Regions from separate parts of the Homo sapiens genome. Here regions 1, 2, 3, 4, 5 and 6 are each linked to region 7. Evidence: promoter capture Hi-C in 16 types of primary human blood cells and fetal thymus (Javierre and others, 2016). All regions are on one chromosome and are shown on one strand. Each heading gives the region's core, a stretch centred on a gene start or on the middle of the fragment in contact. The rest is flanking DNA. Distances are from core to core; before and after follow the strand shown. Region 1 holds the start of WDR87 (WD repeat domain 87). Region 2 has its middle 5.8 kb from the start of ZNF566-AS1. Region 3 overlaps ZNF260 (zinc finger protein 260). Region 4 holds the start of ZFP14 (ZFP14 zinc finger protein). Region 5 holds the start of ZNF790 (zinc finger protein 790). Region 6 holds the start of ZNF461 (zinc finger protein 461). Region 7 holds the start of ZNF527 (zinc finger protein 527).

Evidence for each region. Contacts are between HindIII fragments. The CHiCAGO score rates a contact against its expected background, and 5 or more counts as called.
Region 1: a contact is called between the fragment with the promoter of WDR87 here and the fragment with the promoter of ZNF527 in region 7, in 1 of 17 cell types (activated CD4 T cells). The highest score is 5.1, in activated CD4 T cells.
Region 2: a contact is called between a fragment that was not itself captured here and the fragment with the promoter of ZNF527 in region 7, in 1 of 17 cell types (monocytes). The highest score is 5.3, in monocytes.
Region 3: a fragment that was not itself captured here is called in contact with the fragment with the promoter of ZNF527 in region 7 in 1 of 17 cell types (monocytes); the score reaches 6.0 in monocytes.
Region 4: a contact is called between the fragment with the promoter of ZFP14 here and the fragment with the promoter of ZNF527 in region 7, in 15 of 17 cell types (naive CD8 T cells, neutrophils, non-activated CD4 T cells and 12 more). The highest score is 21.8, in naive CD8 T cells.
Region 5: a fragment that was not itself captured here is called in contact with the fragment with the promoter of ZNF527 in region 7 in 1 of 17 cell types (neutrophils); the score reaches 5.3 in neutrophils.
Region 6: the fragment with the promoter of ZNF461 here is called in contact with the fragment with the promoter of ZNF527 in region 7 in 10 of 17 cell types (naive CD4 T cells, non-activated CD4 T cells, total B cells and 7 more); the score reaches 7.4 in naive CD4 T cells.

The regions. Positions count from the first base shown.
Region 1 is chr19:37,904,678-37,907,985 of GRCh38, forward strand. It overlaps WDR87 (WD repeat domain 87), which reads right to left and starts at 1,917. Exons shown (of 6, transcript NM_001291088.2): 1 at 1,822-1,917. SIPA1L3 (signal induced proliferation associated 1 like 3) reads left to right here and starts at 2,531. Exons shown (of 22, transcript NM_015073.3): 1 at 2,531-2,681. RefSeq lists a silencer at 2,643-2,882 and an enhancer at 3,183-3,242. The HindIII fragment of the contact is 21,411 bases long and covers 1-3,308 here.
Region 2 is chr19:36,493,843-36,497,078 of GRCh38, forward strand. It overlaps the pseudogene CTBP2P7. Among named protein-coding and RNA genes, the nearest start is that of ZNF566-AS1, 5.8 kb to the left of the region's middle. The HindIII fragment of the contact is 1,705 bases long and covers 681-2,385 here.
Region 3 is chr19:36,523,116-36,526,095 of GRCh38, forward strand. ZNF260 (zinc finger protein 260) reads right to left here. Exons shown (of 3, transcript NM_001166037.2): 2 at 2,040-2,258. Among named protein-coding and RNA genes, the nearest start is that of ZNF260, 3.7 kb to the right of the region's middle. The HindIII fragment of the contact is 4,081 bases long and covers 1-2,980 here.
Region 4 is chr19:36,377,555-36,380,978 of GRCh38, forward strand. ZFP14 (ZFP14 zinc finger protein) reads right to left here and starts at 1,647. Exons shown (of 5, transcript NM_020917.3): 1 at 1,609-1,647. RefSeq lists a silencer at 1,754-1,843. The HindIII fragment of the contact is 12,200 bases long and covers 1-3,424 here.
Region 5 is chr19:36,835,442-36,838,755 of GRCh38, forward strand. ZNF790 (zinc finger protein 790) reads right to left here and starts at 2,946. Exons shown (of 5, transcript NM_206894.4): 1 at 2,896-2,946. The HindIII fragment of the contact is 2,528 bases long and covers 638-3,165 here.
Region 6 is chr19:36,665,470-36,668,703 of GRCh38, forward strand. ZNF461 (zinc finger protein 461) reads right to left here and starts at 1,368. Exons shown (of 6, transcript NM_153257.5): 1 at 1,221-1,368. It also overlaps a transcript of ZNF567 not described here. RefSeq lists an enhancer at 1,545-1,674. The HindIII fragment of the contact is 6,595 bases long and covers 1-3,234 here.
Region 7 is chr19:37,369,809-37,373,025 of GRCh38, forward strand. It overlaps ZNF527 (zinc finger protein 527), which reads left to right and starts at 1,291. Exons shown (of 5, transcript NM_032453.2): 1 at 1,291-1,418. RefSeq lists enhancers at 661-800, 821-870, 1,041-1,350 and a silencer at 1,381-1,690. The HindIII fragment of the contact is 7,295 bases long and covers 1-3,217 here.

The sequences.
Region 1 (3,308 bases), core at 667-3,166, 540 kb after region 7:
ATAGTATACTATATACACTGTTATTCACTTTTCTCTTAATATACCTTTAAGACTAATTCATATTAATACATATAACTCATTTCCCAACAGTTACTAGCTGCAGGGTATTCCACCGTGTGGCTGAACTATCATTTATTTATTCAAATTTCTATTAATGGACATTCGGTAGTTTCCAACCTTTTGCTACTGCAGCTAATGCCGCAAATGAGTATCTTTGTTAGTGCCTCATAACATTTTAATTTTATTTGATTTTAATTAACTTAAATTGTAGAACTGAGGCCAGGCATGGTGGCTCACGCCTGTAATCCCAGCATTTTGGGAGGCCGAGGCTGGCAGATCACGTCAGGAGATCGAGACCATCCTGGCTAACATGGTGAAACCCAGTCTCTACTAAAAATACAAAAATTAGCTGGGTGTGATGGCGCCTGCCTGTAATCCCAGCTACTTGGGAGGCTGAGGCAGGAGAGTCACTTGAACCAGGGAGTCAGAGGTTGCAGGGAGCCGAGGTGGCGCCACTGCACTCCAGCCTGGCGACAGAGTGGGACTCCGTCTCCAAAAAAAAAAAAAAAAAAAGTAGAACTGAAGCAATGAAAACATTTTTCCATTAACCTAACTTGGAATAATATTTTGGATATATTTGGGTTAAATAAAATATTAAAATTAATTTCATAGCTGGGTGAGATGGCTCACGCCTATAATCCCAGCACTTTGCGAGGCTGAGGTAGGAACATGTCTTGAGGCCAGGAGTTCAATACCAGCCTGGGCAACATAGCAAGAAAAAAAAAAGTAAATAATAATGATAAATAAAATGAATTTTACCTGTTTATGTCAAAATTAAAATTGCATATGTGGCTTGCATTACACATAAAAACACACACATATATAATTTTTTTTTTTTTTAAAGAGACAGGGTTCTGCTTTGTCGCCCAAGCTGGAGGGCAGTGGTGCAATCATGGTTCACTGCAGTCTCAAACTCCTGGGCTTAAGCGATACTCAGCCTCTTAAATAGCTGGGACTATGGCCACATGCCACCACGCCTAGCTAGTTTTTTAGTTTTAGTAGAGATAGGGTCTTGCTATGTTACCCGGCCAGTCTCCAACTCCTGGCCTTAAGTGATCCTCCTGCCTCGGTGGCTCAAAGTGCAGGGTATATTTCTCTTAGCTAGTATTGCTCTACATTGTTGTAGTCTGGTGGTGGCCTGATATCCCTACTGGACTGAAAACTCCCTGAAGGTAGGAGTCCAGTCTGTCTGGATTTCTCTTGTGTCTCCATAATCACCCAACCTGACATGGAATAGGTGGTTAATCCATTTTTGTTGAATGAGTGGAAAAATGTGCTCTCCCAGGAAGAAACATATGCTTCCCAGCTTCAAGTGTTAGTGAACATCTTCCTAGAAGGCAGGCTGAGGCGGAAAGGGTATTGACTCCGGCTTCTCCACCAGAGGACCTTGCAATTCCAGTCAATTCCCTCGGTAACTCTTATGGAGGAGTGGCAATATACCTTAAAAAAGGAGTGTGTGTTGCGGGGTATTCCGCTGCTTGGTTATGTCACCAGGTGGATTAAATTTGGACAAAATTTCCCAAGGTGTAGGTACTCTACAAACACTAGTTACCCTCAGGAATGTGCGATCAACAAAAGAATGCAAGATAACAAGGCCCCTAGGCAGCCCCTGGGTCTTGTGGCTCCCGTCGAAGGCAGAGCTCTGGAGCCGCCTACGCCGGGGACAGGCGACTACACCTGGGGCCCCTCACCCTCGGGCCTCCTGCACGTGGCAGGGAAGGCAGGGCGTCTCTATCTCAAAGCATTGGCTGCGCCTGTTACCTGCGACAGGATTCCCGACAAGGGACGGGTACGGCGTGTGCACTCAGGAGCTCCTAGAGCTAGGGGCAGCAACTAAGAAGCTACCTGGCGGATGTTGCGAGAGGACTCCGCCCACAGAACGGTTGGCCCCCAACCCCGCAGCCGGCGGACTTCCCGAGGCCAGGGGTCTGAACGCGCGTGCGCATGGGCGCGCGCCCGGCGCGAGAACGCGCGCGCGCTCTCGAAAGAAAAAAAAAAAAAATCCTCTCCGCGGGGTCCCGCGGCAATTTAGGCCGGGGTCTGCCGACGACCGCGCGTGCGCGGGCGTGCATCTACGCCCTCCTCCACCGCCCCCTCCGCTGGGGGTCTAGCGCACTGCTCCGCTTCCCCCGTTTCCCCCGGGCTAGCGTCCTAGGGGTAAGTGACTCGAGCCTGGCAGAGAGTGAGGGAGAGGTTCCGCCGAATGAAGGGAGGAGGTAGACGGGGCCAGGAGAAAGGAGAAACCGCCCCGGCGGGGCGAAGAGCGCGGCTCTCGAGCTGTAGTCTGCAGGAGACACACCTCCCTCCCTCACGCCCCTCGGGGCTGCGGAAGTGCTCTACAGACTGGAGCTGCACGAAGGCGACCAGCGGACTACCGTTCCTAGGAGGCAGCGCGGCGGTGCGCCTACGGCTCCCGGCAGCCCCCGCGCGCCATTCTCTTTTTGAGTTCGCGGCCGGCTAGGGCGAAACTACAGTTCCCAGGAGGACTCGCGCGAAGCGGCTTGGAAGTGGGCAGCCTGGAAGTCACTCGGGCCACCGGAGCTGGCGGCGTCTCCAGCGAGCGGCGCGGAGCTGGACGCCGCGATCGTGGGGCCCGCGAGGCGGGCAGCCGGGGCGTCCAGGTACGTGGCTCCGGGTGCAGGATCGGCCTCGCGCAAGGGTGGCGGGGAATCGGTGGCTGCCCGGACCCCGAGGGTCAGCGCGGGCGGACGGCCGGGTGTGGGTACTGGCCGTGGGGGGCGGCGGCGCCGGGACTCGCGCCCTCCGGACCCAGCCGGACTCGTGCCCGCATGGCTCAACTTTCCAGGCGTGCACCCCGGCGCTGTGGTGAAGAGCTTGGAGGCGGGGAGCGGTGGATTCGCGTCCCGGCTGTGCCACTCGGGAGCCGCGATCTGGGAAAACCGCGCCGAACCTCAATTTCCCCTGCAGTAAAACGGAGTAGGAGAGCATCTTGGCGGAGACTCTGTTGAGATAATATAATAAAACATTTGGCACATAGGAGGCACTTACTACGTATTTGGGTTATTGTTAGCTCTCCGAAAAATGAGGTGAAGATGTTATCGATTGCATAGGGTGAGGATTAGTTGAGCGTGTGCATGTAAAGAGGTGAGTCCTTAGTTAGCACCCAATGCAGGCTAGCTGCTGTTAACCGAGATTATTTTGTTAAGAGCGTTGGTTTGGAAGGCAGAGAGACCCCAGGTTCAAATTTGAACATTTACCAGCTGTGTGACTTTGGGCAACTGGCTTCA
Region 2 (3,236 bases), core at 283-2,782, 880 kb before region 7:
CACTACATGTATTTAAAGTTTTTCTTCCATAATAAATTAACCCTTGCTTGCTGTAACTTTTCTACTTTATAAATGTTCAAATTTTTAAAAGCTTTTTGACTTTTCTGTAATATCGCTTAGCTTAAAACACAAATACATTGCACAGCCCATGTGGGATCCGTATCTCTTGGTAAGGAAATGTTGCAGGTCAGATGTCATTCTTATGTGGCCACATAGAGGTAGAAAGACTGCATATATGATACTGCCTTTCCCAACCACGGGCTCGTATTCTAACATACCGCAACAATGCCCAATATTTATGGGGTCATAGAAAATAGGATTCACTATGGTTGGAGAATTTCCAGAGCCAATTTAAGTTCAGGAATGCTGGCAATGAGAATGATCAGTAGGAATCAGTGTAATGATTTACATAGTTGAAACTATCAACTGGGCCAGGCTGGTGGCTCACGCCTATAATCCCAGCACTTTGTGAGGCTGAGGTGGGCTGATCACCTGAGGTCAGGAGTTTGAGACTAGCCTGGGCAACATGGTGAAACCCCGTCTCTACTAAAAATACAAAAATTAGCTAGGCATGGTGGCACACACCTGTGATACCAGCTACTCGGGAGGCCAAGGCAGGAGAACTGCTTGAACTTGGGAGGCAGAGGTTGCAGCCAGCCAAGATCATGCCACTGCATTCAAGCTTGGGTGACAGAGCAAAGACTCCATCTCAAAAAAAAAGTTAAAATAGAATAAAACATATAGCCATTATTTTTCTGTTTGGGGCAATTTTAAAGTTTTTCTTTTGTCACAAAAACAGGAATGTACTATGCAAAGGCTTGAAATAGGCCATCTTTTTTTTTTTTTTTTTTGAGTTGGAGTTTCGCTCTTGTTGCCCAGGCAGGCTGGAGTGCAATGGCATGATCTCGGCTCACCACAACCTCCATCTCCTGGGTTCAAGCAATTCTCCTGCCTCAGCCTCCCAAGTAGCTGGGATTACAGGCATGCACTACCACGCGTGGCTAATTTTGGGTTTCTAGTAGAGACGGGATTTCTCCATGTTGGTCAGGCTGGTCTCGAACTCCCGATCTCAGGTGATCTGCCTGCCTCGGTCTGTCAAAGTGCTGGGATTACAGGCATGAGCCACTGTGCCTGGAAAATAGGCCATCTTTTTAAACAAAAAGGCAATGATTCACAAAAGTCTATGAATAGAACATGTAACTAGTTGATACAAATCTAATAGGATTTGTTTAAAATCAGTCAAATCTAATACATCTGAAGTGTTCTTGTATAAAGTATCACATGAAGAAAAGAAGAATTTATTAATGTCTTAAAAAAATGGGTTTCTTCATAGACAATATGACAACTTACCATTAAAAGTGTTTCGGGACGGCCGGGTGCAGTGGCTTACGCCTGTAATCCCAGCACTTTGGGAGGCCGAGGCGGGTGGATCACGAGGTCAGGAGATCGAGACCATCCTGGCTAACACAGTGAAACCCCATCTCTACTAAAAATACAAAAAATTAGCCGGGCATGGTGGCGGGTGCCTGTAGTCCCAGCTACTCGGGAGGCTGAGGCAGGAGAATGGCGTGAACCTGGGAGGCAGGGCCTGCAGTGAGCCGAGATCGTGCCACTGCACTCCAGCCCGGGCGACAGAGCAAGACTCCATCTCAAAAAAAAAAAAAAAAAAAAAGTGTTTCAGGAGACATAAGGAAATGCAACATTATTCTTCCTGAACACTTTTAGTTCAAGACTTTCCACTCAATAAAATAGGAAAGGATCTGAAACTGAGAAAATGTATTTGAGTACAAACAGCTTGTGAAACATAATACTTTTTTTTGCATCATCAGAGGGTTTTACTGAACTTATAACCAACTTGCCCACTCAGTATGCAATTCAGATGTGAGTGAGGGGCCGGGCGCAGTGGCTCACTCCTGTAATCACAGCACTTTGGAAGGCAGAGGCGGGCGAGTCACCTGAGGTCAGGAGTTCGAGACCAGTCTGACCAACATGGTGGAACCTAGTCTCTACCAAAAATACAAAAATTAGCTGGGCGTGGTGGTGTACACTTGTAATCCTAGGTACTCCGGAGGCTGAGGCAGGAGAATCGCTTGAACCTGGGAGGCAGAGATTGCAGTGAGTCCAGATCTCGCCATTGCACTCCAGCCTGGGTGACAGAGCAAGACTCCATCTCAAAACAAAACAAAACAAAAAAAACAGATGTGAGAGGACAGAGGTGTCTCACAGGAGCCTGTACTGTCTTCAATCCTATGTGTGCAGGTATCTACCACAGGCAAACAGTTTCTCCACATTTTGTAGTTATATGATCTTGCTACTAGCAAAAAGAGGTAAACAGCCCCTGTAGAATGAAGGGACTACAGTCACGGGACTAGAGTCACAGAATGAAGCTTTCCTCTTAATATTTTTTAATTTGATGTTTGAACTCTTTTTCTTTTTTCCTTGAGACAGTCTTGCTCTTTCGCCCAGGCTAGAGTGCAGTGGCACGATCTTGGCTTACTGCCACCTCCTGTGTTCAAACAATTCTCCTGCCTCAGCCTCCGGAGTAGCTGGGATTACAGGCGCTCGCCACCACACCCAGCTAATTTTTGTATTTTTAGTAGAGACGGGGTTTCACCATGTTGGCCAGGCTGGTCTCAAACTCCTTACCTCAGGTGATCCACCCGCCTCGGGCTCCCAAGTGCTGGGATTACAGGCATGAGCCACTGCGCATGGCCCGATGTTTGAACTCTCAATGCAGCATCCTAGAGAAGGGTGTTCGGGACCTCCTGTGCCCAAGGGACCGATAAAGAAAAAAGCTCCATTTATTATTTGGGATTTGATGCACAGATGAAAAACTTAACACACAATAACGGAAGTCGGTTGTTAGTAAATCACATCCTAGTCTTTCAGCACTTCCATAAGAGACGACATCTTCAGTTGTCTAGTTCTTGTAGTTTTAGCACGGCAACATCAATGATGCCTATGTCCAGAATCAGTTAAAAAGACCATAATTTGTTTCTCTTAGTTCATCTATTTTTCACTGGCTCATGGTCCCAAGTGTATCTGAATGATTACCTTTGGGCATTCTCTGCTATTGCTTATTAGGGTGCTGTCGATTGTCCCCATGTTTTGTGGGCTGGTTGGGAAGGGGAGCTTGGGAAGGATGTGTCACTCTCAGGAGGTTGTAAGTCATTGGGACGCCTCCAGGGATGATTCCTTCCATGGCTGCAGGAAGTCCTCCTGGAGCCACGCCCACG
Region 3 (2,980 bases), core at 333-2,832, 850 kb before region 7:
CCAACTCCTCTCAAATTCTTCTCATCTCTTTAAATAGCAATCTCATTCTCCTTGCTGCTCAAACAATACTTCTCTTTCAGTCAGATTGCACACTCTTTACAACCTCGTAGCTTACTGGCTATTTTGGACAATCCTCACTGTGACCACCAAGGTCTAAGCCACATGTCTTGCCAGGATTATTTAACAGCCTCCTTACCAGTCTTGCTACTTTAGCTTTCAACTCTTTACAGTTCTCAACACAGCAGCCACAGTAATCTTGTCACAGTCCAATCACATCACTGCTCTACTTGAAAGCCTTTTTGTATCCTCATAAAAACATTTAGAAGCATACAGCAGACACTGTTAACAGTGGCTGCTTCTGGGAAACAGGGGATTGAGGGCCAGGAATGAAGAGACATACCTGATTGTTTTAATTTTCTATCAAGTATACATATTAAATTTTGATAATAATAGTATTATTTCTTTTTTTTTTTTTTTTTGAGATGGGAGTCTCACTCTGTCGCCCAGACTGGAGTGCAGTGGCATGATCTCGGCTCACTGCAACCTCCGCCTCCCAGGTTCAAGTGATTCTTCTGCCTCAGGCTCCTGAGTAGCTGGGATTACAGGCGTGTGCCACCTCGCCAGGCTAATTTTTGTATTTTTAGTAGAGACTGGGTTTCACCATGTTGGTCAGGCTGGTCTCAAACTCCTGACCTCATGATCCACCTGCCGCAGCCTCCCAAAGTGCTGGGATTACAGGCGTGCACCACCATACCCAGCCATTATTATTTCTTTTTAAAATTAACAGGGTAATGAACTAATAGGAAGTCAGCACTAATCCCTAAGCCTGTAATATTGTTAAAAAGCAGGAGGTGACATAGTGTTGAACTATGATGGCTGGAGGTAGGAAGACAATAGAAAACAAGAGTAAGGAAGCAAAATTCAATTCTGAGGAATATAACAATGGAAGGAGAAAGAATGATAGAAAGTTAAAATGTAAAGAAAAGAATCTACTTGCTAGTCTTTGAAAGTTTTTTTATTGATACATAATAGTTATACATAGAATGATTAATTTATTTTATTTATTATTATTATTTTTTAGACAGAGTCTCACTCTGTTGCCCAGGCTGGAGTGCACTGGCACAATCTCAGCTCACTGCAAGTTCCACCTCCCAGGTTCACGCCATTCTCCCACCTCAGCCTCCTGAGTAGCTGGAACTACAGGCGCCCGCCACCACACCTGGCTAATTTTGTTTTTGTATTTTTAGTAAAGACGGGGTTTCACCGTGTTAGCCAGGATGGTCGTGATCTCCTGACCTCGTGATCCGCCAGCCTCGGCCTCCCAAAGTGCTGGGATTACAGGCGTGAGCCACCACGCCTGGCCAGAATGATTACATTTTAAAGAAAATAACTTACATGCTAGTTTTTTTTTTTTTTTTTATTGATCATTCTTGGGTGTTTCTCGCAGAGGGGGATTTGGCAGGGTCATAGGACAATAGTGGAGGGAAGGTCAGTAGATAAACAAGTGAACAAAGGTCTCTGGTTTTCCTAGGCAGAGGACCCTGCGGCCTTCCGCAGTGTTTGTGTCCCTGGGTACTTAAGATTAGGGAGTGGTGATGACTCTTAACGACATGCTAGTTTTTGAAAACTAACAGATCTATGAAGGACTGAATGCTTAAGGAAACGCATCTAGGCATACAGGGAAAAGTGAAAAATGGAGAATGTTAGTGAAAGGAAGAAAAGTGAAATTGAGGCTGTAAAAAAATCATAAAATTGAGGCTGCAAATGATGTAGAATGACTGGCATCCAGAATAGATTTTAGAAGAGCAATCAGTCCTCTAGAATCTGATAAAAGGGATGCATAGATTCAGGAAGACAGTCTGGAAATGTCATTTAGGTATCTAAAGAATTCCCAGCAACAGTCACTCTAAAAGACAAAGGCTAGTACGAAAATCTCAAAAAAACAAACAAACAAACAAACAAAAAAACCCCACAACAACTCAGAGGCTGCAAATTCTCACTGAATAACTGCAATAAGTCTTTATCTCATTCATACCTACCAGGTTCTTGCTTACTCACACAAAGAGAACCTTCTTTACATTTCTTTCTCAATCATCTGTTGCTGTTCTTTTAAGTGCTGACTTTAAACTTGTGAGCAGAAAAATGACACTGGACTTGGATGTTATGGTTGGGGAACAAAGCAGCATCCCAAAATTCAGGGAGCGCCCTTAGAACTCTAAGAGGTTTTGCAGCTCCTGTGGATATACAAGGAAGCAGGCCTGTGAAAAAGAACAAAGTAATGATGATTCTTTGGCTTTGACCTACATGTGAGCAAATGGAAAAACAGTATTTGTACATAGCACCTCAGGCCAGACCCATTATGCCATTCAAAAGCTCTACACATTTCAATGGCCGGGCATGGAAGCTCACGTCTGTAATCTCAGCACCTTGGGAGGCCGAGGCAGGCAGATCACTTGAGATTAGGAGTTCGAGACCCGCCTGGCCAACATGGTGAAACCCTGTCTCTACTAAAAATACAAAAATTAGCCAGGCGTGGTGGCATATGCCTGTAGTCCCAGCTACTCAGGAGGCTGAGGCAAGAGAATCACTTGAAGCCAGGAGGCAGAGGTTGCACTGAACCAAGGTCACGCCACTATACACCAGCCTAAGCGACAGTGGAGACTCCATCTCAAGGAAGGAAAAAAAAAAAAAAGCTCTAAACATTTCAAAAATGAGAAACAGAAGGGACCTTATTTTCAGAATTTAGGTTACACAGAGAAACTATGAGAGACTAAGATGCCAGAGTTATCCACAATCACAACCTGTATAGGTTCCTTCGAGCAGGTGTCACTTGTGACCTTGCTCCTGAGTGAAGTCACATCTTTGCATATAATTTTTCCCCATAACACTTTTCTCATAAGTCTGAAGTAACCAACCTTGAGTGATATGGAAAAAAATACAGGAAATTATTCTGATGGTATTTATAGGTCAGAGCTCTAAA
Region 4 (3,424 bases), core at 397-2,896, 990 kb before region 7:
AAAAAAAACTTAAGTAACAAAATAAAGCTCTGCAGTTAGCTTCTCTTCAGGAGGTTTACTTCCAGACCATCCAAATGATTAGAAAGAGGCAGCTCATAAGAGAAACTAAATTACTGCCAAATGCTCATGTCAATACCTACTGGAGGCCGGGTGCGGTGGCTCATCCCTGTAGTTCTAGCTACTTGGCAGGCTGAAGCAGGAGAATCCTGCTTGAACCCGGGAGGCGGAGGTTTCAGTGAGCACATCGTGCCACTGCACTCCAGCCTGGGTAACAGACCCAGACTCCATCTCAAAAAATACAAAAAAAAACAAAACAAAACAAACCTACTGGAAAGGGGTAGGAATTGGAATCTACCTTCATCACCCCATCATTCACTGGGAAGGAAGGCCAAAGCACCAGGTCAGTGGACAGGACATTTCAGGGGTTAAAGTCTAACTAGCTGAAGATTAACTGGAACAAGCCCGCATAGTCTGACAAAATCATATCTATTGACTGGCAGAAAGGGAGAAAATTCCACAGGAAGGGTTGGAATAGAATGGACGAGAGAGACGAGAAAAGCTCTTTCGTAAACGGTTGAGTTCCAGCTGAAAGATTCTAAGGAGGATCTAATGACAGCTGCAATCTGGAATGGCTGCTGTTTCCGAGGTGAGATTAGGAGAGGCAGGGATTAATGAGATATTGAATGCAATCATGAGTGTAATCAAGAGGGTATCCCCAGTAATAAAATGAAAACAGCAAAGCAAGTCTAGAACATCACTGGTAAGAAAACTGTAATCTCTCAAAGAGGGAGTCATTATGCCATTTTACAACTACTGCACCACCTGGGGAGAAATCATGTTTTCTATTAATTTTGCAACTGGCTTTATCTGTCTCTTCCTTCCTAGCCTGATTAATGACAGAGCTGCTTCATTGTTCAGTCCGAGCTGATTTTCATTCCACAGAAGAGGAAAGCAAATGCCCCCACGCCCAGAAAAAATAAAAATTACACTTCATGGAACAAAACGGAAACACAAACTCATCTGGATGTTGACTTGTCTATATGCAACAGCAATCATTTCCTCCTCTCCCCGCTGCCTTCCTAAAGAACAGCAGGATTGGGAAAGGAGACGGGAATCTTGAGACCGCGGGCCTTTCCTGGAGCCGGCCTTGGCTGAGCAGGACACACCCCCGCTAGCGCACTTGCTCCCTCCGTCTACTGCGCGCAAAACCCGATGGAAATAACAGGGAGCCTGGAATAAAGCTGACCCTTTCCCGTATCAGAGCGAAAGGCCAGGTACACGAAGACGGGGCTGGGATCTGTCTCCGAGTTCCCCGCAGTTTCCATGGGAGGGAGCTCGGGTAAAGCTGTGCAATCTGCAGTTCTTCAGACTGCGTCTTTTTGTTTGGGGGCCTTCATTCACTCCGGGGTTCCTGTATCTAACTCGGAGCCATTCCGGGCCGCTGGACCTGGGCGGCTCTGAAGCGAGAAGGCAGAGGACGCAACAGGGCACCCGGCGCCCAGTCAGCGCCACAAACTCCACAGCTACTGCCTCCTGGCTCACACTGAGGTCTGCGCCGCCCCCGCGCCACCCCCGCGCCCATTGCCTCGGTGCAAGCGACCAACTCACCTCTCGGAGCCGACACCAGCAGCGAAGCCGGAAAGAACTGCGAGCGGAGGCCTGTGGGAAATGTAGTCCGCCGATGGGAGGGACTGGTTCCAGCCCCAACGGGCTGCGCGGAGTGCGCATGCGCGGGGGCCGGAGCCCCGGGTGCGCTCGGGGCGGGAAGGCCCTCCGCGCTGCGTGGGGCTGAGGCGAGCTCGGGCTTGCGTTTGCTTTTGTCGCTGAGGAAGACTTTTATTTGTTTATTTTCTTGAGACAGGGTCTTACTCTGTCGCCCAGGCTGGAGTGCAGTGGCGTGATTAGAGCTCACTGCAGCCGCGACCTCCCGGGCTCAAGCGACCCTCCCACCCGAGCCTCCAGAGTAGCTGGGACTGCAGGCGCGCGCCACCACGCCCAACTCATTTTTTAAGTTTTTATAGAGACCAGATCTCCCTATGTTACCCAAGCCGGTGTCGAACTCCTGGGCTTAAAAGATCCTCCCGCCTGAGCCTCCCAAAGTGCTGGGACTACAGGCGTGAGCCACCAGGCTCAGCCGCGGAGGATTTAGAAAGAAGTTTTGGCACCAGCAGATGCCTAATATGTGTACTAAACACCTACCAGTTACTCACTGCATACACCCAAGCAAGGTGTGGGCACACATCAGGCATGCAATGAAAATACTCTCAAAGCCCACCAGAACCTGGAGCAGGACGTAAACCTAGAAAGGTCGCTCGTGCTCACTGCCCTCTCCCTTTCTCCCACTCTGTCTCTGTCTCTGTGTGTGTGTGTGTGTGTGTGTGTGTGTGTGTGTGTGTGTGTGTCTCGTATCTCCTGCAGTTGTGAATGTATTGTTCTACTAAAAATACAAAAAATTAGCCGGGCGTGGTCGCGCGCGCCTGTAATCCCAGCTACTCAGGAGGCTGAGGCAGGAAAATCGCTTGAACCCGGGAAGCGGAGGTTGCATTGAGCTGAGATCCGCCATTGCACCCCAGCTTGGGCAACAAGAGCGAAACTCCGTTTCAAAAGAAAAAGACTAACTGGAGAGGTCTGTCTCCAATGAGACTGAATTTGTCCTGTCCTGCGTTCCTTCAGGAAAGAAATGGGATAAGCCCACCAGGGACCACCCTGAGGCATCTTCTGTATCCCAAATTCTTTGATATATTAGTTAATACATGAAAGAATTTGTTCTTTCCTTAAGAATATAAAACTTTAGAAGATATTTGAAAATGCCTCGGCAATCTGGTTTCATTTTGCAAACAATAGGATATGCATGAAATAGGAGATAAATGAAAAATCTGAGCTACTTTATAACTACTAAGAAGGTGGCCAGACGCGGTGGCTGACGCCTATAATCCCATCACTTTCGGGGGGCCGAGGCGGGTGGATCACCTGAGGTCAGGGGTTTGAGACCAGCCTGGCCAACATGGTGAAACCCCGTCTCTACTAAAAATACAAAAAAATTTAGCTGGGCATGGTGACGCACACCTGTAGTCCCAGCTACTCGGGAGGCTGAGGCAGAAGAATCGCTTGAACCAGGGAGACGGAGGTTGCAGTGAGCCAAGATCGTGCAGCTGCACTCCAGCCTGGGCGACAGAGCAAGACGCCGTATCAAAACAAAAACGAAAACAAAACAAAACAAAAAAAACTACTAAGAAGGCCGAAGGCCCAAAGTATTTTTTTAATTCAAAATCACGGTCCTATGTACATGTTTACAATTAAATTTATGTAAGGAAATCAACACTCCATTAAAAAAACAATAAAAAGAATTATTAAAATAGCTCCTCCATATTCTCTGTTTTGACTAAGTTTTTTTTTTTTTGAAACAAAGTCTTGTTCTGTCACC
Region 5 (3,314 bases), core at 652-3,151, 530 kb before region 7:
AACTGTAAATTATATTATTGGTGAAGTGGGGACCTATGTACTTTACTGGAAGTCTTCAACATAATCAACAGAGGTTGAGGTCCCCTTATGTCACAGGGATCAAGACTCCTCCACAACACTGAGGCCAAGACACTACACCACTGTATTAGTTTTCTACTGCCATGAGGTAGTGGCTTAAAATAATACAAATCTATTATCATATAGTTCAGTAGAAGTCTGAGTTGGGTCTTACTAGGCTAAAATCAAGGTGTTGGTAGGGCTGTGTTCCTTTCTGGAAGCTCCAGGGGAGAATTCGTTTTCTTATGTTTTCCAGCTTCTAGAGGCCACCAACATTCCTTGGCTTAAGGCCCACTTCCTCTATCTAGTAAGCAATGTGGCATCTCTCTGACCATTCTTCTGCGGTCACATCTCCCTCTGACTTTAAACTCAGCCAGGAAAGGTTCACTGACTTTAAGGACCCATGTCATTATATTAGTCCAACAAGATAATCGCCCCCATTTCAAGGTTCTTAACTTTATCCCCTTTGCAAAGTCCTTTTTGCCATATAAAGTAGCATCGTCCTAGTTTCCAGGGATTAGGAAGTAAACATTGGTTGCAGGGCCATCATTCTGCCTACCTTGACCCCCCTTCTATCTTAAGCTTCCTTCTTTCTGAGAGATACTCAGTGAAGGAAATAATGTATACAGTGGTCCATTTCCAAGACAAAATGCCTTGAATTGGCTTAGGTAAGCAAACTACAGAAGAAACAGGATATACTAGGCCCCTGCTTGGATAGATGATGCCTGCTTGTCAGCCTCCCGCTTTCTCCCTTTCCCCCACTTAGTTGCCTTCACCCAAACCAAAGAAGTTTAGTCTAAGATGAAAGTTTGCTAGCCTGCAAAATAGCTCATTTTGTCTGCTTTTATCAGCCTGCCCAGCTGCTTAGGTCATAAGTCAACTATTGAAGAGACCTTGAGCTAACTAGGATTGCAGTGCATTGTGGGCCGCAACCAAATGCAGCAAGACAAGCCTAAAAAAAAAACACACACACACACCGGCTGGGCGCGGTGGCTCACGCCTGTAATCCCAGCAGTTTGGAAGGCCGAGGCGGGCGGATCACAAAGTCAAGAGATCGAGACCATCCTGGCCGACACGGTGAAACCCCATCTCTACTAAAAATAGAAAAGTTAGCTGGGCGTGGTGGCACGCACCTGTAGTCCCAGCTACTCGGGAGGCTGAGGCAGGAGAATCCACTTGAACCTGGGAGGCGGAGGTTGCAGTGAGCCGTGATTGCACCACTGCACTCCAGCCTGGTGACAGAACAAGACTCTGTCTCACAAAAATCAAAAAACAAAACACCTGAAGCCCCTACCCAACAATCAATAGGCAACATCCGGGAAGATTGTGACCCCATAGTTATCAGCCTATGAGGAACCAGGGGAGGAACCTGTGCACTAGGGGATAAATTGCTTGTTGAAACTGTTGGGTGTGCCTATCAGACACTGATCTTGCAAGACCATCATTAAAAGTCTCACTTTTGCTGTTCTCCGGGTCTCTGAGTCCATTCTTTGGGACGGGTAAGTTTGTTTCTCACACTCAAGAAATCATCTTTCACTATCCCACGCTATCTCTCCAAAACTGACTTGAATCCAACCAGAATAAATGTCAATCCAACCTTGTATTTATATTTATCTACTATAAGAAGTCCCAGAATTTCTAGTCAACTGTCTTTTCGGACATTGTATACCATCAAGTCTCATTTGTCCCCTTTTCTCATTCTTCCCAACTTTCAACACTTTTCCTGTATGCCTTCATAATGGAATTCATAATTCATTAACAACCAACTCCTCTTTTATCTTCAACCACTTCCTTGAACACGCCCTAACATTCTGAGTCTAACAGAAACTAGGCTGTATCTGGAGGACTCTGCAGCCCTCTCAACATTTCCCCAGCTACAGCCTCTTACCAGTGGGTCTGAAAATGGAACAGATGGCCGGCCTCCTTGTTGTTCACTACCTTCAGACCTTTCTTCCTCCCTCCACAAACTCTAGTTTTGAATTTCCTGCCATGAGATTGTATATAACTCACCACATCTCACTTTTGTTGACCTCTACCAAACACAGGGTATTTTCCCCCTATATCTGAAATCTTCAGCTCATGGTTTACTCTCTGCAGCGCGATTACCCTTTTCTATTTTTTTTAATTCTTGCATTTTTAACTACACCCACACAGATGAGCCTTGTTTACTTACCCTTGCCTGGACTTTTCCCCCCTCTCGTGGCTCATTTCCAACAACATGTTGATGGGTGGTTGTTCCCCAGCCGTCTTCCCCAGCCCTCTACCCCAACCTGCTGCTCCATTTCTCTGCTCTAATTTACGGAGAAACTCTTGAACTATGTTGTCTACACTGTGTCCCATTCTTCTCCCCTCCTTCTAGGTTGCCCCCACTCCAATCCAGCTACGGGCCAGCACAAAAACTGCTCCCCACACATTCACGAAGGACTATGCCTGTCACTCAACGCAAAGCTCAATTCTTTGTTTTTGGCCCCATAGCGGCTGCTATCACCACCTTTACGAACGTGGTCACGCACAACGCGACGCAGTCATAATCACGTACATACAGTCACATTTAAATAGTCCATTAGGGTCACACACAGCGCCTGTCAACGTCGTGTGCGCGTGCGCGCACACACACACACACACACACATACACACACACACACACAAGCTCCCGTCGCGGCCCCAGCTCCTGCATCAATTTCACTCTCGCATCCACTGCTCCCATCGCGATCGCTCGCCCCCACGCTCCCTCGCCGGCAAAGCCACCAACTCCAAAGACATTAGCACCTCACTCCCCTCAGCCCCGGCCTCGGGCCCTCCGGAGTCATTCGGCTTCTGTGTCTCGGAATCACTCACCCGGCCCTGCGGTCCCTTGATGGTGGAAGGTTCCGCGATCTTTCTATTAACCCTAAAGGGACAGAGGGCTGACAGGAAGTTGCCCGGGGAACGGTGCACTCTGGGAAATGTAGTCCGGAGCCTGGGCCGTCTTTAACTGCCCCGGACACCGCGGTCACCATTAACGGACCCTGCATTTGAGCCCCATCCCCTCGCTGGGCAAAGACCATCGCCCACACACCGCTCACATCTGCTGCCGAGAGCTTCCAGAATTCCAGGCCGCGTTTAGGAAGCTTCAGCGGAGGCATGCAGGCTGCCCTACCTCTGCAAAAGGCTCCCAGCCCTGGGAACAGGACAGTAAGCCCAGGCCATCTTAGGCTGGAAGTAACCTTGGTCCCGACGGCCCTGGGAAATGTAGTCCAGAGCCTGGAACACTGCAG
Region 6 (3,234 bases), core at 118-2,617, 700 kb before region 7:
GGAGGCAGATGCGGGCGGATCACGAGGTCAGGGGCTCAAGACCAGCCTGGCCAACATGGTGAAATCCCGTCTCTACTAAAAATACAAAAATTAGCTGGGTGTGGTGGCGGATGCCTGTAATCCCAGCTACTCGTGAGGCTGAGGCAGGAGAACTGCTTAAAACCCGAAGGCGGAGGTTGCAGTGAGCCGAGATCGCGCCACCGCACTCCAGCCACGGTGAAAGAGAGAAACTTCGTCTCAAAAAAAAAAAAAAAAAAAGGAAGTTGCAGAACAATGTGTATTGTGGCCAAATCTCAGAAAAAAAAAATCAAACACATAGGTACATAAGCATACTACATATGTGGTGTTTTTCTGAGGCTGTAATGATAAATGCGGGGTAGCAATGTGATTTTCGCTTGTGTTGTGTGTGTAAATCTACAGCTAACTCCTCAAGTAGTCAGGAAAGGATGAGAGATGGATGAATGACAGATCTCTGGAGTGGGGCGTCCTGAGCCTTAGATGTGTGCACAGGAGCGGGGTGAGGTGAATGTGCGTGTGTCTGTGTGTGAGAGACCAGAGTTGACTGAGAGGAGTGGAAGCTCTCTGCCTGATCGTGTGAGCCTGAGGATAACGTGAATGTTTTTTTGTTTTTTTTTTTTTGAGACAGTTTCGTTTCACTCTTGTTGCCCAGGTTGGAGTGCAATGGCGCGATCTCGGCTCACAGCAACCTCCGCCTCCCGGGTTCAAGCGATTCTCCTGCCTCAGCCTCCCAAGGAGCTGGAATTACAGACATGCACCACCATACCCGGCTAATTTTGTATTTTTAGTAGAGGTGGGGTTTCTCCACGTTGGCCAGGCTGGTATCGAACTCCCGACATCAGGGCATCCACCCGCTTCGGGCTCCCAAAATGCTGGGATTACAGGGGTGAGCCACCGCTCCCGGCCTGTAAATGTGCTTTTTCTTTCACGTAAATAAATGAGATTTACACAAATAGCCATTCACAATCATGGTCACAGTCACCTACAAACCCCATTTACACAAATGATCAGGCACACAATCACACTGTCACTAAAGCACACCCACGCACCAGGTCGCTGTCCCAACAGTAACACACAGCCCAAAGAGAAACCCTACTTCCTCACGCATTCAAAACACACCCACCTAAGGGCTGATCCCGCACTCAGAGGCCTAAAACTATAGACATTCCCTTCCGCGGCACTGGTGAGCCAGGATTTCTTACCTTCAGCATTCTCAGGGAAGGCTCTGGTCCAAGCTCTGATTCGGATTCCAAGCGAAGCCACACGCCCAGCTCTTCCTTCTCCACCGGCCCGGGACATCCTTACCTGCCTCTACCCGGAGACCATTCCTGCGAGGCTCCTACCGGAAGTAGCTGTGGACAGCAGTGTCCTCTGGGAAATGCAGTCCGAGGGGAGAGCGCCTGGGGTGGAGCGGGTGTGTTCCGCCGGGCTCCGGGATGCACTTGCGCAGTTTCACCCGAGGCTGGAGTGACGCCAACCTGTTAATGTTCGTTTTCGGATTCTGGACTTCGGGTTCCGCTGAGGACGGATTTCGGAATAGGCACAGTGGCTGCCCCGAACCCCTCAAGGCGGCCTCCGCGGGCTGTGGCTGAAGATAATTTTCGGCGGGCGCGGACTAACCCGGCTTCCCTTTGTGGAGTTGTGGTGAGAAAGGTGTTTTGTTGTGCGCGTGTCCGAAGGTGACTCCGGAGGAGAAGGTGGATATGAACTGACGGTGAGGGTGTAGCGCGTGAGATTTGTATGTGAAACGATTTAAAAAAAAATTTTTTTTTTGGCCGGGCGCGGTGGCTCACGCCAAGGCGGGCGGATCACCGAGACCAGCCTGACCAACATGGAGAAACCCCGTCTCTACTAAAAATACAAAATTAGCCGGGCGTGATGGCGCATGCCTGTAATCCCAGCTACTCGGGAGGCTGAGGCAGGAGAATCGCTTGAACCCGGGAGGCAGAGGTTGCGGTGAGCCGAGGTCGCGCCATTGCACTCCAGCCTGGGCGACAGAGCAACTCCTTCTCAAACAAACAAACAAAACTGTATGTCATATATTTGACTCCATTTATTTATTTATTTAGAGACAGAGTCTTCTTGCCCTGTTGCCCGGGCAAGAAAAAACAAACAACAACAACAACAAAAAACTGTACGTCATATATTTCACTCAACTTTTTTTTTTTCTTTTTTTTTTTTTGAGACGGAGTCTCGCTGTCGCCCAGGCTGGAGTGCAGTGGCGCAATCTCGGCTCACTGCAAGCTCCGCCTCCCGGGTTCACGCCATTCTCCTGCCTCAGCCTCCCGAGTAGCTGGGACTACAGGCGCCCGCCACCTCGCCCGGCTAATTTTTTGTATTTTTAGTAGAGACGGGGTTTCATCGTGTTAGCCAGGATGGTCTCGATCTCCTGACCTCGTGATTCGCCCGCCTCGGCCTCCCAAAGTGCTGGATTACAGGCGTGAGCCACCGCGCCCGGCCTCTTTTTGAGACAGGGTCTTCATGCCCTGTTGCCCAGGCTGACTGCGGTGGCGCGATCCTAGCTCACTGCAGTCTCCACCTCCTCAGCTCCTCCCGCATCCACCTCCCAAAGTGCTGGGATAGCAGGCGTGAGCCACCGGGTCAGGCCAAAACGATTTATTTTATTTTTATTTTTTTGGTAAAGACAGGGTCTCGCTATGTTGCCCAGGCTGGTGGTCTCGAACTCCTGGGCTCAAGCGATCCTCCCGTCTCAGTGGCCAAAGTATTGGATGACAGGTGTGAGCCACCGCGCTGGGTGGTGAAACGGTTTTGAGGCTTTTTGAGAATGGCTGTTCTATATGCCCGCGTGGGGCTCATGCGGCGAGCGCCGCCACTCCCGCAGTGGCCCCTGTGGGGGTGATACGTGATGTGGCTTAAATGTGAGAGGCCACCTGGACCCGTGTGATTGCCACGTTTGCAGGAGCGCAGCCACGTGCACAGGGATCTTGTGACATTCTGTGTGAGGCTTTTTGCGCTGGGTCCACCCATGATTAGAGGACTAGTGTGACTGTGGCGGCCCCTGAGAAGGGAAGAAGCTGGTTGCGACCAGGAAGGTCTGAGATGGATGAATGACAGATCTCTGGACCAGGGCGTCCTGAACCTTAGATGTATGCATAGGAGCGGTGTGAGGTGACTGTGTATGTTTGTGTGTGAGAGTCCAGAGCCGACTTAGAGGAGTGGAAGCTGGCACATGTTATCTGCCAGAAGGGACAGATC
Region 7 (3,217 bases), core at 41-2,540:
ACATAAATGAGCCTGTCATTGACATGTAGAGACCTGGGTCAACAGTACAGATGGAGGTCCCCAGCCAGTCCCCTTCTGTTCCCACTGCCATCCTTGTCCCACATCGTAAGAGGTCTTCTATTCCCACATGTGGACACTCCAGCTTGCATATCTAAGCTCTGTCTAGCCTTACCAAATTGCTCTCATTTGGCCACATTTTGTGGATAGGCAGCACATTCCACCTTTGGAAGACAGATCAAGGGAAGGGTCTTTGGACACAGAGGAGATACAGGCTCTGGAAGCAGGCTGGAGTCCATTTGAACAGGAAATCCTGGGGATTTGGATACCCAGAGCATGGTCTGAAAGAAGGTTGTGAGATCTTTGCAGGCATGTTTCTGCCTATGGACTTTCACCAGGAAGGAAACTGCTTGACTAGAGGAGGGCCAAAGTGTGGCCTTTTGTATGTTTAATAATATTAAAATGTTAAATATATTATTTTGACCAATTGAGAAATAATAATAATAATAAAATAGGCCGGGTGCGATGGCTCATGCCTGTAACCCCAGCACTTGGGGAGGCCGAGGCAGGTGGATCACAAGTTCAGGAGATGAAGACCATCCTGGCCAACATGGTGAAACCCCATCCCTACTAAAAATACAAAAATTAGCTGGGCGTGGTGGCAGGTGCCTGTAATCCCAGCTCCTCAGGAGGCTGAGGCAAGAGAATCGCTTGAACCCGGGAGGCGGAGGTTGCAGTGAGCGCCGAGATTGCCTCAATAAAAGATACCACAGACCCCGCCCATGGCAGGAGATGGGGGTGAAGGAACAGTAAGACCAGGAGACAGTCAGATACACATCGGATCAGTGGTATCCTCACAGTAACAGAAACGGTCACCCCCAATGTCAGCCACAGTCTCTTTCATCCACAATCACTTTCACATTCAGCTACCCACAATCACGGGACGTGATTTAAAATACAGAAGCTCCCTGCACTGACAAAATCCGCCGCTCCTTTCGTCGGCAAGCATAAAGGTGTGCAGCAACAGTCACACACGAACCACCACACCCAAGCATTCAACCAGTCAGCCCCGCGCGCAGCCTGGCCGCTTTCCCCAACACAGCAGCTCAAGGTCACTGGAGAGCCTACGACCGCACACAGCCCTCTCCGGTACCTGCCCCCGTGGCGCAGGCGCGCAGTGGAGGGGGCCGCGGGGTTCTCTGGGAGATGTAGTTCAACGATGACGGCCGTGGCGCAAAGCGTTCTGGGGCTCGTGGTTCGCGGGGTCCATGGGGAACGCGGTGTCGCTGGTTCAGATCTCGCAGAGCTCAGAGTCCTGCATGCCTCAGTCCTCGCCTCGCTCCTCCTCGCGGAGGATTCTGGGAGGTGACGTCGCGGGTCTCGGTCGCGGGGCCCGTTTGCAGAGCCCGCGGCGCCGGGAGGTGAGTGGGGCCGGGCCCCGGGCGGGAGCGGGAAGTCAAGGGCGGGCTCCGGGTGGCCCGGCCGCGCCAGGGATGGGAACCCGGCAGGAGTCGCTGGGGAGGCCGTGTGTGTTTCACTGTATTACCAACTATGTGACAGGCTGCGGGTGTGACAGAATGTGATCTTGTGTCACTGTGTGTGTGTGTTTGTGCGCGTGCGCCCGCTTGTGTGTGACTGTAACCATCTGTGTCTGGGGGTGAAACTGTGAATATGTGTGTTTGTGTGTGACTGTCTCTGCAGGTGTAGCTGTGTATGTGTTTATGAGAGACTGGGGTGTGACATTGTGTGTTTGTGTAAATGCATGTGTGTGGTTATGTGACCACCTGTTTCTGCGGATACAATTGCGTTTGAATGTGTGTGACAGCAAGTGTGATTGTGCGACTATGACCATCTGTCTCCGCAGGTATAGTTTTGTATCAGTAATTGTGACAAGATGTGTGACTTCTGTGGTATGCTACTTTGTGTGTGATTGTGTGTGATTGTTTATCTCTGTTGGTGTAGTTGTATGTTACCATCTATCTTTGTGCTTATGTGGCTGTGTATTGTGTGAGATTATGGGTGTGTTTGTGTGACTCTATACATTTGTGATTGGGTGAGAATTTGTGTGTATATATGAGATTGTGGGATTGATGTATGAAGCACAGAAATATTAGAATTACCCAAGTTCACACAGTTAACAAGTGACAGCACCAGAACTCAAACCCAAGCAGTTTAGCTCTAGAGGTCTCGCTTTTTTTTTTTTTTTTCTCTTGAGATGGAGTCTCACTCTATTGCCCAGGCTGGAGTGCAATGATGCGATCTCGGCTCACTGCAACCTCCGCCTCCCAGGTTCAAGTGATTCTCCTGCCTCAGCCTCCCAAGTAGCTGGGATTACAGGCGCGCACCACCACGCCCAGCTAGTTTTTGTATTTTTAGTAGAGACGAGGTTTCACCATGTTTGGCCAGGCTGGTCTCCAACTCCTGACCTCATGATCCGCCCACCAGAGCCTCCCACAGTGCTGGGATTACAGGCGTGAGGCGCTGCGCCCTGCTGCAGTTTTTATGGACAATTTCAAGCTGCACTACACTAAGGAAATAACTGCTAGGGACTGAGTTGCCTAGTGCAAAGTAGTCCAGAATTAGGGGGTGAAATTAGGGGGTGATGTATACTGAATTCTAGGTCAACCACAGTTGTCCCTTTCTTTTCTTTTCTTTTCTTTTCTTTTTTTTTTTTTTTTTTTTTTTGAGACAGAGTCTTGCTCTGTCCTGTAGGCTAGAGTGCAGTGGTGCAATCTCGGCTCACAGCACCCTCTACCTCCTGGGTTCAATCAAGCCTCCCACCTCAGCCTCCCAAGTAGCTGGGACTACAGACACATGCCACCACGCCCAACTAATTCTTGTACTTTTTGAGGAGATGGGGTTTTGCCATGTTGCCCAGGCTGGTCTTGAATTCCTAGTCTCAAGTGATTTGCCCACCTTGACCTCCCAAAGTGCTGGGATTACTGGTGTGAGCCACTGTGCCCAGCCTGTCTCTATTTTTACAATGAAGAAATGTTGGCTCTAAGAGGACAAGGAACTTACTTCAGATTGCCCAGTTTGTTGTTGCTTTAGTATTAAAATTTGGCGATGTTTCCCTCAGGCTGCATTTCTGTAGAGAAATAAAGGTAACACCTGCCATCTCTAAAGATGCCTCTCTAAGGAATATATGGCATTGATTACTCGGGTTGTGTTGAATATTTCCCATTCAGACATCGTGGCCTCTCAAAAGAGGACTGGTTTT